Linked DNA regions of Homo sapiens: regions 1 and 2 are each linked to region 3. The links are contacts of gene promoters, found by promoter capture Hi-C in human tissues and cell types (Jung and others, 2019). All regions are on one chromosome and are shown on one strand. The core of a region is centred on a gene start or on the middle of the fragment in contact, and the rest is flanking DNA. Distances in the headings are between cores, read along the strand shown.

Region 1 (3,357 bases), core at 452-2,951, 550 kb before region 3:
GGCACAAAGCAAGCCTAAGGTGAAAGCAACCTGAAATCCAGAGGGTGATGAGGACATTCCCCAGGACCCCGGTGCAACACGCGCCACCCCCCCAGCCCCTCTCCCACCCCAGGCAAGCAGCGCCCAGGACCAGGAAATGCATGCCCGATACTTCTCCCAACCCAAGCCCCCATTTAAAATACCTAAGTAACCTTCTCTAAACATCCACATCATTAAAAATAAGTTTCCAACGTGGCAGACTCGTTTATGTAAAGCCATTATTGCTGTCTTATTGGAAGAACAAAACTCAAACCCAACTTTTCCAAGGCAAGAGTTGTGAAGTTATGTAACAGGTCGGTTTCAGCAACAGGCGATGCAAGAAAAAACAAAATACAACCTGCTTCCTGAATGATCTTAATAGCCAGCCAATATGTGCTCCTCCATGGGAGGCAAAAATTCTTCTCTGCCTCAACCTTCCGCTGGCCAGCGCCCCTATGCATGGGGAAAGTCGAACCTACGCTCCGTGACTGTGAAAGGTGGGGTGCCCAGATGGCTGCGACCACAGATGGGAGGTGGGACAGGCGGCCAGACCCACCAATGGGGAGACCGGGCAGGACCCCCGGACCAGGCCAGAGACAGGATTAGGGCAGGTCACCCTGGATACTCCCGGAAAGGGACTGAGGGAAGTCACTCAAGCTCCGGCCTGAGCAAGACCCGGCCCAGGTCGTAGGAGAACTCGAGGCAGAATACCGAGACCTGCGAAAGAGGGACCAGGGCAGGTCACCCTAGCCCGGATGGAATGGAAGAACTCAGATAAGTCAGGGGGCAGGTTACTCCAGGCCAGACTGATTGTGGGACACAAGGCAGGTCAGCCCGGGCCCAGGAGGGGGAGCAAACCCAGCTGGCGTAAAGGAACAGGGTCAGGTTAGCTCGGTCCCGAACGAAGTGGAGGACTCGAGGCAAGTCTGCCCGGCCCAGGAGTTGGGGGCCGAAGGAACTCAGCCAGGTCGCGGCCGGAGCGGGGGACCCGGGGCAGATCAGGCCAGGCCCGGGCAGATTGCAGGACCTGGGGCAGGTAAGCTCAGGCCGAGCCAGAGTAGGGGACCCGGGGCAGATCGCCCCAGGCCCGGCCGCGATGGGGGACTCCGGCCAAACACAGGCCGGGCCCGAGGCGAGTTCGGGGCAGGTCTCAGGCGCCGAGGCCGGGCCCGGGCTTCCGGCACCGCCATGTGCCGCTCACCTGCGCGTCGAGCTGTCCCGCCGCAGCGCCCGCGCCCGCGCCGCCCGGGCCTCCCGCGCCGCCACCGCCCGGGCCGCCGGGGCCGCCGGGGGGCGTCTGCGTCTGGCTAGGAAGAGTAAAGTCGGTGAACTCGAACTCGGAGCCCTGTGTGTCGGCGCCAAGCAGCTCGGCCTCCTCCGTGTCCAGGAAAGTGAGAGTCTGCGAGCTGGGCCCGTACGCCTCCACGCTCATGGTGCCTCCGGGTAGGGCCCTCGGGCCGGTTCCGCGCTGCACTCGAGCCCGCCGCCGCGCTGAGGCCTAGGCCGCAGGCCTCGGGTCGCTGCCGCTGTCGCCCCCGCGCGCCCGGAAAGGACCAAACCGCGCGCCCCGGCGCCAGCCGGACCGAGAGGTAACAGTGCCGAGCCGCCGCCGCTGCCGCCGAGCCCCTCCGCGCCTCAGCTCCCCTCGAAGCCGCCAGCCGCTCGCAGCCTAGAGCAGGAACTGCCGCCACCGCCGCCGTCGCCGTGCGCGTGCGCGAGCCCGACGCCGGCGGAAGCGCGCGCGCTCTTCGCGGGCGCCTGGTGCCCAGCAGGAAGACGGGACGCGCACCGCGCACGCGCAGGGGGTGGGGCTTTCAACCGCCGCTGCGGCGGCAGCTCGAGGACTTGGTCCCGCCCCAACTGCTAATTGGGGACGCCCGGGCGGCTGGCGGTGTGGACTTGGTGGTCTGCACCTGTGGTCGCTGCGACGGTGTTTCGGTTTAATTGAGCGCTAGCCGAATACCCTACATAGGTGGTCTCGGAACGCCCAACTGGAGAGACTGGGCAGGGACGGTGCGCTCCCACTCCTGGCAAAAGCTGCTTGGAACTCAGTTTCCCCATCTGTAAAATGGAGGGTGCCTCGCACATAGTAGATGCTCCCTGTGCATTGGTTTAAAAAGGGAGTGGGGCTCGGCGCGGTGGTCACACCTGTAATCCCAACACTCAGAGGCTGAGGCGGGAGAACTGCTTGAACTCAGGAGTTCGAGACCAGCCTGGGAGACAGAGTGAGACTCCATCTCTACAAAAAATATAAAAATTAGGCCGAGCGCGGTGGCTCACGCCTGTAATCCCAGCACTTTGGGAGGCCGAGGCGGGTGGATCATGACGTCAGGAGATCGAGACCATCCTGGCTAACATGGTGAAACCCCGTCTCCACTAAAAATACAAAAAATTAGCCAGGCGTGGTGGCACGAGCCTGTAGTCCCAGCTACTCAGGAGGCTGAGGCAGGAGAATCGCTTGAACCCAGGAGGCGGAGGTTGCAGTGAGCCAAGATTGTGCCACTGCACACCAGCCTGGGCAACAGAGTGAGACTCTGTCTCAAAAAAAAAAAAAAAAATTAGCTAAGCGTGGTGGTTCGCACCTGTAGTCCCAGCTACTAGGGAGGCTGAGGTGGGAGGATCGCTTGACCCTGGGAAGTTGAGGCTGCAGTAAGCCGAGATTGCACCACTGCACTCCAGCCTGGGTGACAGAGCGAGACCCTGTCTCAAAAATAAGTAAAAATAAATGAATGGGGATAGTCTTACGTACTGGGCCTGGCACTTGGAAATGATGGTTGCTGCTGTTCCTGATGCCTCTGCCACTGTTATTATACCATTACTATTTTTGCTATGATTATTATTTAGTGGACGTATACAGCAAAACAACTGGAAGCACATGGTCTGTGGTGGACTCTAGACCTGACCACTTACCAGCTGTGTGAAATTATACAAGTGACTTAACCTCTCTGAGCCTAGGGTTTCTGTTGCCATTAAGGTGGCATAGGAAGCCTGGGCAAGGTGGCTCTTTCCTGAAATCCCAGCACTTTAGGAGGTAGAGGCAAGAGAATCACTTGAGCTCAGGAGTTTGAGGCTGCGGTGAGCTATGATTGTGCCACTGCACTCCAGCCTGGGTGACAGAGATCCTATGTGTGTGTGTGTATATTAATATATATTTATTTATGTTAATATAAATAGAGTGACTAGTAGCTCATTTATTCCTCTCATACTCTCATGTGATATATGGTTGCTGCTGATATATATGGAGCCCGGTGCGGTGTGTCACGCCTGTAATCCCAGCACTTTCGGAGGCCAAAAGAGCAAGACCTTGTATAAAAATAAATTTTAAAAACTCTGATAGGT
Region 2 (2,906 bases), core at 21-2,520, 560 kb after region 3:
CTCATCATTTTACACACAAGATTCATCAGCAACAAAGCCTCCACCTCCTCCATCTCCACCTCCTCGCTGCTCCTATGCCCTGCCAGACCCGTTTCCACTCACCGCCCTTGCAACAGCTGTTTCCCCTGCCTGGAAGTCCATCCCCCTGCCGCCCCCACCTGTTCCTACTGGCCAGGGGGCCCTTCCCCCTCAGCACCTTCGGGTGCTAAGACTGACTGTCCTCTCAGTCCCTTGCAGCCTTCTCATCCTTCCTGACACCATGTGAGCTGGAAGCTTGTTCCATCTCCTCACTCGCTTTGGGTCCATCCCCAAACCAGACCTGTGTTGGCAGGGCTGAACCTGTCTATCATCCCGGCCATATCCCTGTGTCCACTGCCCAAAGGCCTGGCGCATAGCAGGTGCTCACTAAACACTCCTCAAGCACATGAACCGAGGTGCGTGTTCCTGTCCCATTTTACATGCAATGAAACGCCAGGTCCAGATGCTCCGAGGGATGGGGGATGAACACCCATCTCCACCCACGGGCGCATCACGCCCGCCAGTCCCACTGAGCCAAGTGGCTGCAGGTGAACCTGGCAGGTGCGCCTATGACTCACCTCCCTAGGTGCCAAATCCCCAGGGCAGGCCGCACCCGCCCACACCCCAATTAGCAGCTCCTTGTGAGGCAACAGAAAGCGGGCCCCGGGGCTCCAGGCCCAGCCTCCCCCATATCTGCTTCTCCCTCCGGGAGATCTCTATCTAAGCTGCTAAGACCTGGAGATCCAAAGCGACCCCAGGCCCTACCCCCGGGCAGGCCAGTCAGGCGGGAAGCGGAGCCGTGGTCCAACTGCAAGGGTCCCCAAGCCCAGGCCCGTGTCCCCTCCCCTATCTTCACCCGGAGTTGGGGCGGGGCAGCCCTGCCCAGCCCAGGCCCGGATGCCACTTTCTCCGCGGGCACCCACGGGCACCCCGCCTTTGCCCGCGTCGTGCGCCTAACGGTGAAGGGGACCCAGCCCCAGGCCCGCGACCCCCGCCCCGGAGCCCGGGTCCCGCCGCCGCCGCCGCCGCCGCCCCACCCCGCCGGCCCCGGGCCCAGACGCGCGAACGGGCCCGCCTCCCGGGCTCCCGCGGGCCCCCAGGCCAGCCCGACCTCTTTCGAGCTCCTCCAGGACGTAGGTGAGGAGCCCCGGGCTCCCGAACTCGCTGCCCACCACGAGGAGCAGTGAGCTCGGAGCCGCGGCAGCCCCAGATCCAGCCACCGCCGCCATCTTCGGGCCGCCCCGGCGTTCTCGGCGCCCGCCCCGCAGGCCCCGCCTCTTAAAGGGGCCGCACCGGAAGGGCTGAAGACCCCGCCCGGAACCACCGCATCCCCGCCCCTTTTTGTCGACCACTTACAGGCCCTTTGAGGTCGTGGAGAGCAGGGGATGCGGGCGTTAAAGGGGTTGGCCGACTCCTGGGTGTCCGCTTGGGAGCCGCCTCTCCCAAGTGACCATTCATTCATTTTTTTTTTCATTGAACAAGCTTTGATTGCGTGCCTGCTGCATGTAGGTCAGAACTCCTGCCCTCCAGGAACTCACATCACATGACAGTAGGCCGCATCAGAACCCGGTGCCTATGGATGCTCCCAGCTCTCTAGGTCAGGGCTTGAACAGAGAAAAGAAATCTATCTTGTAGGTAGGGCTTTAAGGGATGTGTAGGAGTTTGCCTTGTGGGTGGTGGGGCAAGAGCTGGTGAGGCAGAAGTTTACAGCAGGTGCAAAGTTTTAGAGGTAAGAAAGTACATGTGTGTTTGGGACACAACCGGAGCACTCTGGGCCTGCCTGGAACAGGGCAACACTTATTCTGCACCTCCTGTGCGCCAGGTATTTTATTGCATTAGCTCATTACATACAAGCACAAAGCGATGAGTTTTGTGCTTGTATGTAGGCACAGATGAGTAGGCACAGTTACTGTGGTCACTTTCAGAGGAAAGAAGAGGAAACTGAGATTTGGAGGGATGAAGTCACCAGGCCTGTAAGTGGTAGAGCAGGTTTGAACCCAAGTGGGTCTTACTCTAGATCCAGCCTGTGCAAGGGACTGCCTGCGTTGCGCACATGGGTACCTCTCTCTCCCCAGATAATCCTCTTTAGGCTTTTCTTTCCTTTCCTCCCCTCTCTTCTCCTCTCCTCCCCTCCCCTCCTCTCCTCTTCTCCCCTCCCCTCCCCTTCTCTCCCCTCTCCTCTCCTCTCCTCCCCTCCCCTCCCTTCCTCTCCCTCCCCTCCCCTCCCCTCCTCTCCCCTCTCCTCTCCTCTCCTTTCCTTTTCTTGAGATGGAGTCTCATTCTGCCGCCCAGGCTGGAGTGCAATGGCACAATCTCAGCTCACTGCAACCTCTGCCTCCCGGGTTCAAGCGATTCCCTTGCCTCAGCCTCCCAAGTAGCGGGATTATAGGTGTCCGCCACCATGCCCTGCTAATTTTTGTATTTTAGTAGAGATGAGGTTTCTTTTCTTTTCTTTTCTTTTCTTTTCTTTTCTTTTCTTTTCTTTTCTTTTCTTTTAGAGACAGAGTCTCGCTCTGTCGCCCAGGCTGAAGGGTAGTGGCGCGATCTCGGCTCACTGCAAGCTCCACCTCCCAGGTTCATGCCATTCTCCTGCCTCAGCCTCCCGAGTAGCTGGGACTACAGGCGCCCGCCACTGTGCCCAGCTAATTTTTTGTATTTTCAGTAGAGACGGGGTTTCACCGTGGTCTCGATCTCCTGACCTCGTGATCTGCCTGCCTCGGCCTCCCAAAGTGCTGGGATTACAGGCGTGAGCCACCGTGCCCGGCAGAGATGGGGTTTCACCATGTTGGCCAGGCTGGTCTCGAACTCCTGACCTCAAGTGATCCTCCTGCCTTGGCCTCCCAAAGTGCTGGGATTACAGGCGTGAGCCGCCGCGCCTGGCCCCCTTT
Region 3 (3,143 bases), core at 256-2,755:
AATACTGAGCATCCATTCTATGCGAGGCCCTGTCAGCAGGCTCAGCATAGGCAATGTCCCTGACCTTCAGGGACTATGGTCCACTCCATCATTCTGGCAGATTCAGAGGCTACAATAAAGGAGTAAAGTCTGAGGGTGGGGCACTTCCTGAAGACACATCTTTGCACTGGGGGAAGGGAGTACCAAGCAGAGAGCATAGCACGTGCAAAGGCCCAGAGGTACGATTAGTCCTGCAACTGGGAGGCCAAGGATCAGAGAGAGTGAGGGGAAGGAGGTCAGGGAAAGGAGGGTGTGGGCTCCATTCAGACAGAGGTGGGGAGCTGGAGGGGTGCATGCAGAGGCTGTAGGTCAGATCCAGATGTCCTAAGGATCCCTTGTGAGTATTGGTGGGGTGGGTCCATCTCTCCTCCCTCACACCCCCTTCCCAGCCAGTCTTAATAGTGGCTCATTAAGCCCTAACAGCCATGATAGTGGTAACAAGCATGTAATAATTATACCCGGCATTCCTGCCTCATCAGCCCAGCCCCTGGAGTTGGGCACCCTCGCCCAGGACATCACAGCCCTGGCAGACCTGGGGTTAAAACGTGGGCGGCGGAAGGAAGGGGCTGCGCAGGGGCCTGGACTCCCAGGTTCTAGGGTTCTAAGGGTGGACAAGAGCTCAGGCCTAGTCACAGCCCGGGCCCTGCTGTGACTCCTAGCTAACTCTCGGGGGATGGTCACTCCACCTCTCTGAGCCCAGTTTCCCATCTGTAAAGGCAGGAAGTAGGACTCCTGGTTCTAGAACGCACTCAGTGAAAATGATCAGGATCCAAGCGCTTTCAGCAACTTCTGGCGACCCTCCTCTCCCCTCCCGTCTCTTCCTGAGCAATCACACGCGGGGTGGAGGGAGGGAGGGAAGGAAGGAGGGAGGGTGAGGAACGCAGACCTCCCCACACCCCCGGCGAGCCCCCGGACACAGCCCCACCAGGCCTCCAGCCCCGTATCCGCACAAAGCCTCTCCAGAAGGCGCGCTAGGGGAGGCCCTGGCGGCACAGCAGAGCAGGAGGCGCCAAGGAGTTATTTAGCCATGCGGGACCCCATCCCCCTCCAGTCCCCGGAGGCCGGCACCGCCCCCGCCCCCGCCCCCGCCCGGCCGGGGCCCCACGCGCGGACACGGGGCGGGGCCTCGGGGCGGGCGGGCGCCTGGTGGCCCGGGCCCATCACGCCACCCGGGACGTGCCTTGGCGGAGGCGGCGCCGGGGAGATCGGTCGTACACAGCGGTCCCGGGGCGGGGTGACCCGGCCCGGGCGCGCGGCCGCCCCCATGACGTCAACCCACAAGGCAGCGCGCTGTTGTGGCGTTTACCGCGCGTCGCCGGGGCAACGGCGGCCGGGCGGGCGTCGGCGGCTTGGCCCCGCCCCTCCATGCAAATGAGCGACGTCACCCGCACCCAATGGCGAACGGGGGCGGTGAGCTCATCGCGCCGAGCCGAGGCTATAAGAGGGCGCACAAGTGGCGCGGCGCAGGAGCCGCCGCCAGTGGAGGGCCGGGCGCTGCGGCCGCGGCCGGGGCGGGCGCAGGGCCGAGCGGACGGGGGGGCGCGGGCCCCCCGGGAGGCCGCGGCCACTCCCCCCCGGGCCGGCGCGGCGGGGGAGGCGGAGGATGGAAACACCCTTCTACGGCGATGAGGCGCTGAGCGGCCTGGGCGGCGGCGCCAGTGGCAGCGGCGGCAGCTTCGCGTCCCCGGGCCGCTTGTTCCCCGGGGCGCCCCCGACGGCCGCGGCCGGCAGCATGATGAAGAAGGACGCGCTGACGCTGAGCCTGAGTGAGCAGGTGGCGGCAGCGCTCAAGCCTGCGGCCGCGCCGCCTCCTACCCCCCTGCGCGCCGACGGCGCCCCCAGCGCGGCACCCCCCGACGGCCTGCTCGCCTCTCCCGACCTGGGGCTGCTGAAGCTGGCCTCCCCCGAGCTCGAGCGCCTCATCATCCAGTCCAACGGGCTGGTCACCACCACGCCGACGAGCTCACAGTTCCTCTACCCCAAGGTGGCGGCCAGCGAGGAGCAGGAGTTCGCCGAGGGCTTCGTCAAGGCCCTGGAGGATTTACACAAGCAGAACCAGCTCGGCGCGGGCGCGGCCGCTGCCGCCGCCGCCGCCGCCGCCGGGGGGCCCTCGGGCACGGCCACGGGCTCCGCGCCCCCCGGCGAGCTGGCCCCGGCGGCGGCCGCGCCCGAAGCGCCTGTCTACGCGAACCTGAGCAGCTACGCGGGCGGCGCCGGGGGCGCGGGGGGCGCCGCGACGGTCGCCTTCGCTGCCGAACCTGTGCCCTTCCCGCCGCCGCCACCCCCAGGCGCGTTGGGGCCGCCGCGCCTGGCTGCGCTCAAGGACGAGCCACAGACGGTGCCCGACGTGCCGAGCTTCGGCGAGAGCCCGCCGTTGTCGCCCATCGACATGGACACGCAGGAGCGCATCAAGGCGGAGCGCAAGCGGCTGCGCAACCGCATCGCCGCCTCCAAGTGCCGCAAGCGCAAGCTGGAGCGCATCTCGCGCCTGGAAGAGAAAGTGAAGACCCTCAAGAGTCAGAACACGGAGCTGGCGTCCACGGCGAGCCTGCTGCGCGAGCAGGTGGCGCAGCTCAAGCAGAAAGTCCTCAGCCACGTCAACAGCGGCTGCCAGCTGCTGCCCCAGCACCAGGTGCCCGCGTACTGAGTCCGCGCGCGGGGCGCATGCGCGGCCACCCTCCCCAAGGGGCGGGCTCGCGGGGGGGTGTCGTGGGCGCCCCGGACTTGGAGAGGGTGCGGCCCTGGGGACCCCCCCTCCCCGAGTGTGCCCAGGAACTCAGAGAGGGCGCGGCCCCCGGGGATTCCCCCCCCCCGAGGGTGCCCAGGACTCGACAAGCTGGACCCCCTGCTCCCGGGGGGGCGAGCGCATGACCCCCCCGCCCTCGCGCTGCCTCTTTCCCCCGCGCGGCCGCCCCGTGTTGCACAAACCCGCGCGTCTCGGCTGCCCCTTTGTACACCGCGCCGCGGAAGGGGGCTCCGAGGGGGCGCAGCCTCAAACCCTGCCTTTCCTTTACTTTTACTTTTTTTTTTTTTTCTTTGGAAGAGAGAAGAACAGAGTGTTCGATTCTGCCCTATTTATGTTTCTACTCGGGAACAAACGTTGG

What was found. Contacts are between HindIII fragments. The study calls those that stand out against the background at their distance.
Region 1: the fragment with the promoter of UPF1 here is called in contact with the fragment with the promoter of JUND in region 3 in 1 of the 25 tissues and cell types used here (dorsolateral prefrontal cortex).
Region 2: a contact is called between the fragment with the promoter of MAP1S here and the fragment with the promoter of JUND in region 3, in 2 of the 25 tissues and cell types used here (dorsolateral prefrontal cortex and hippocampus).

What each region holds. Positions count from the first base shown.
Region 1 is chr19:18,830,303-18,833,659 of GRCh38, reverse strand. UPF1 (UPF1 RNA helicase and ATPase) reads right to left here and starts at 1,701. Exons shown (of 24, transcript NM_002911.4): 1 at 1,220-1,701. The coding sequence starts at 1,450. RefSeq lists silencers at 1,088-1,167, 1,178-1,267, 1,418-1,517, 1,638-1,897. The HindIII fragment of the contact is 23,837 bases long and covers 1-3,357 here.
Region 2 is chr19:17,717,844-17,720,749 of GRCh38, reverse strand. It overlaps MAP1S (microtubule associated protein 1S), which reads right to left and starts at 1,270. Exons shown (of 7, transcript NM_018174.6): 1 at 1,130-1,270. The coding sequence starts at 1,247. RefSeq lists enhancers at 79-228, 619-688, 2,739-2,906 and a silencer at 1,039-1,088. The HindIII fragment of the contact is 7,935 bases long and covers 888-2,906 here.
Region 3 is chr19:18,279,984-18,283,126 of GRCh38, reverse strand. It overlaps JUND (JunD proto-oncogene, AP-1 transcription factor subunit), which reads left to right and starts at 1,505. Exons shown (of 1, transcript NM_005354.6): 1 at 1,505-3,143. The coding sequence starts at 1,643. The coding sequence ends at 2,686. It overlaps MIR3188 (microRNA 3188), which reads right to left and starts at 1,050; the gene lies at 966-1,050. LOC124904652 (a long non-coding RNA gene) reads right to left here and starts at 1,035. Exons shown (of 2, transcript XR_007067154.1): 1 at 1-1,035. RefSeq lists silencers at 1,027-2,026, 2,607-2,916 and an enhancer at 1,520-2,371. The HindIII fragment of the contact is 27,320 bases long and covers 1-3,143 here.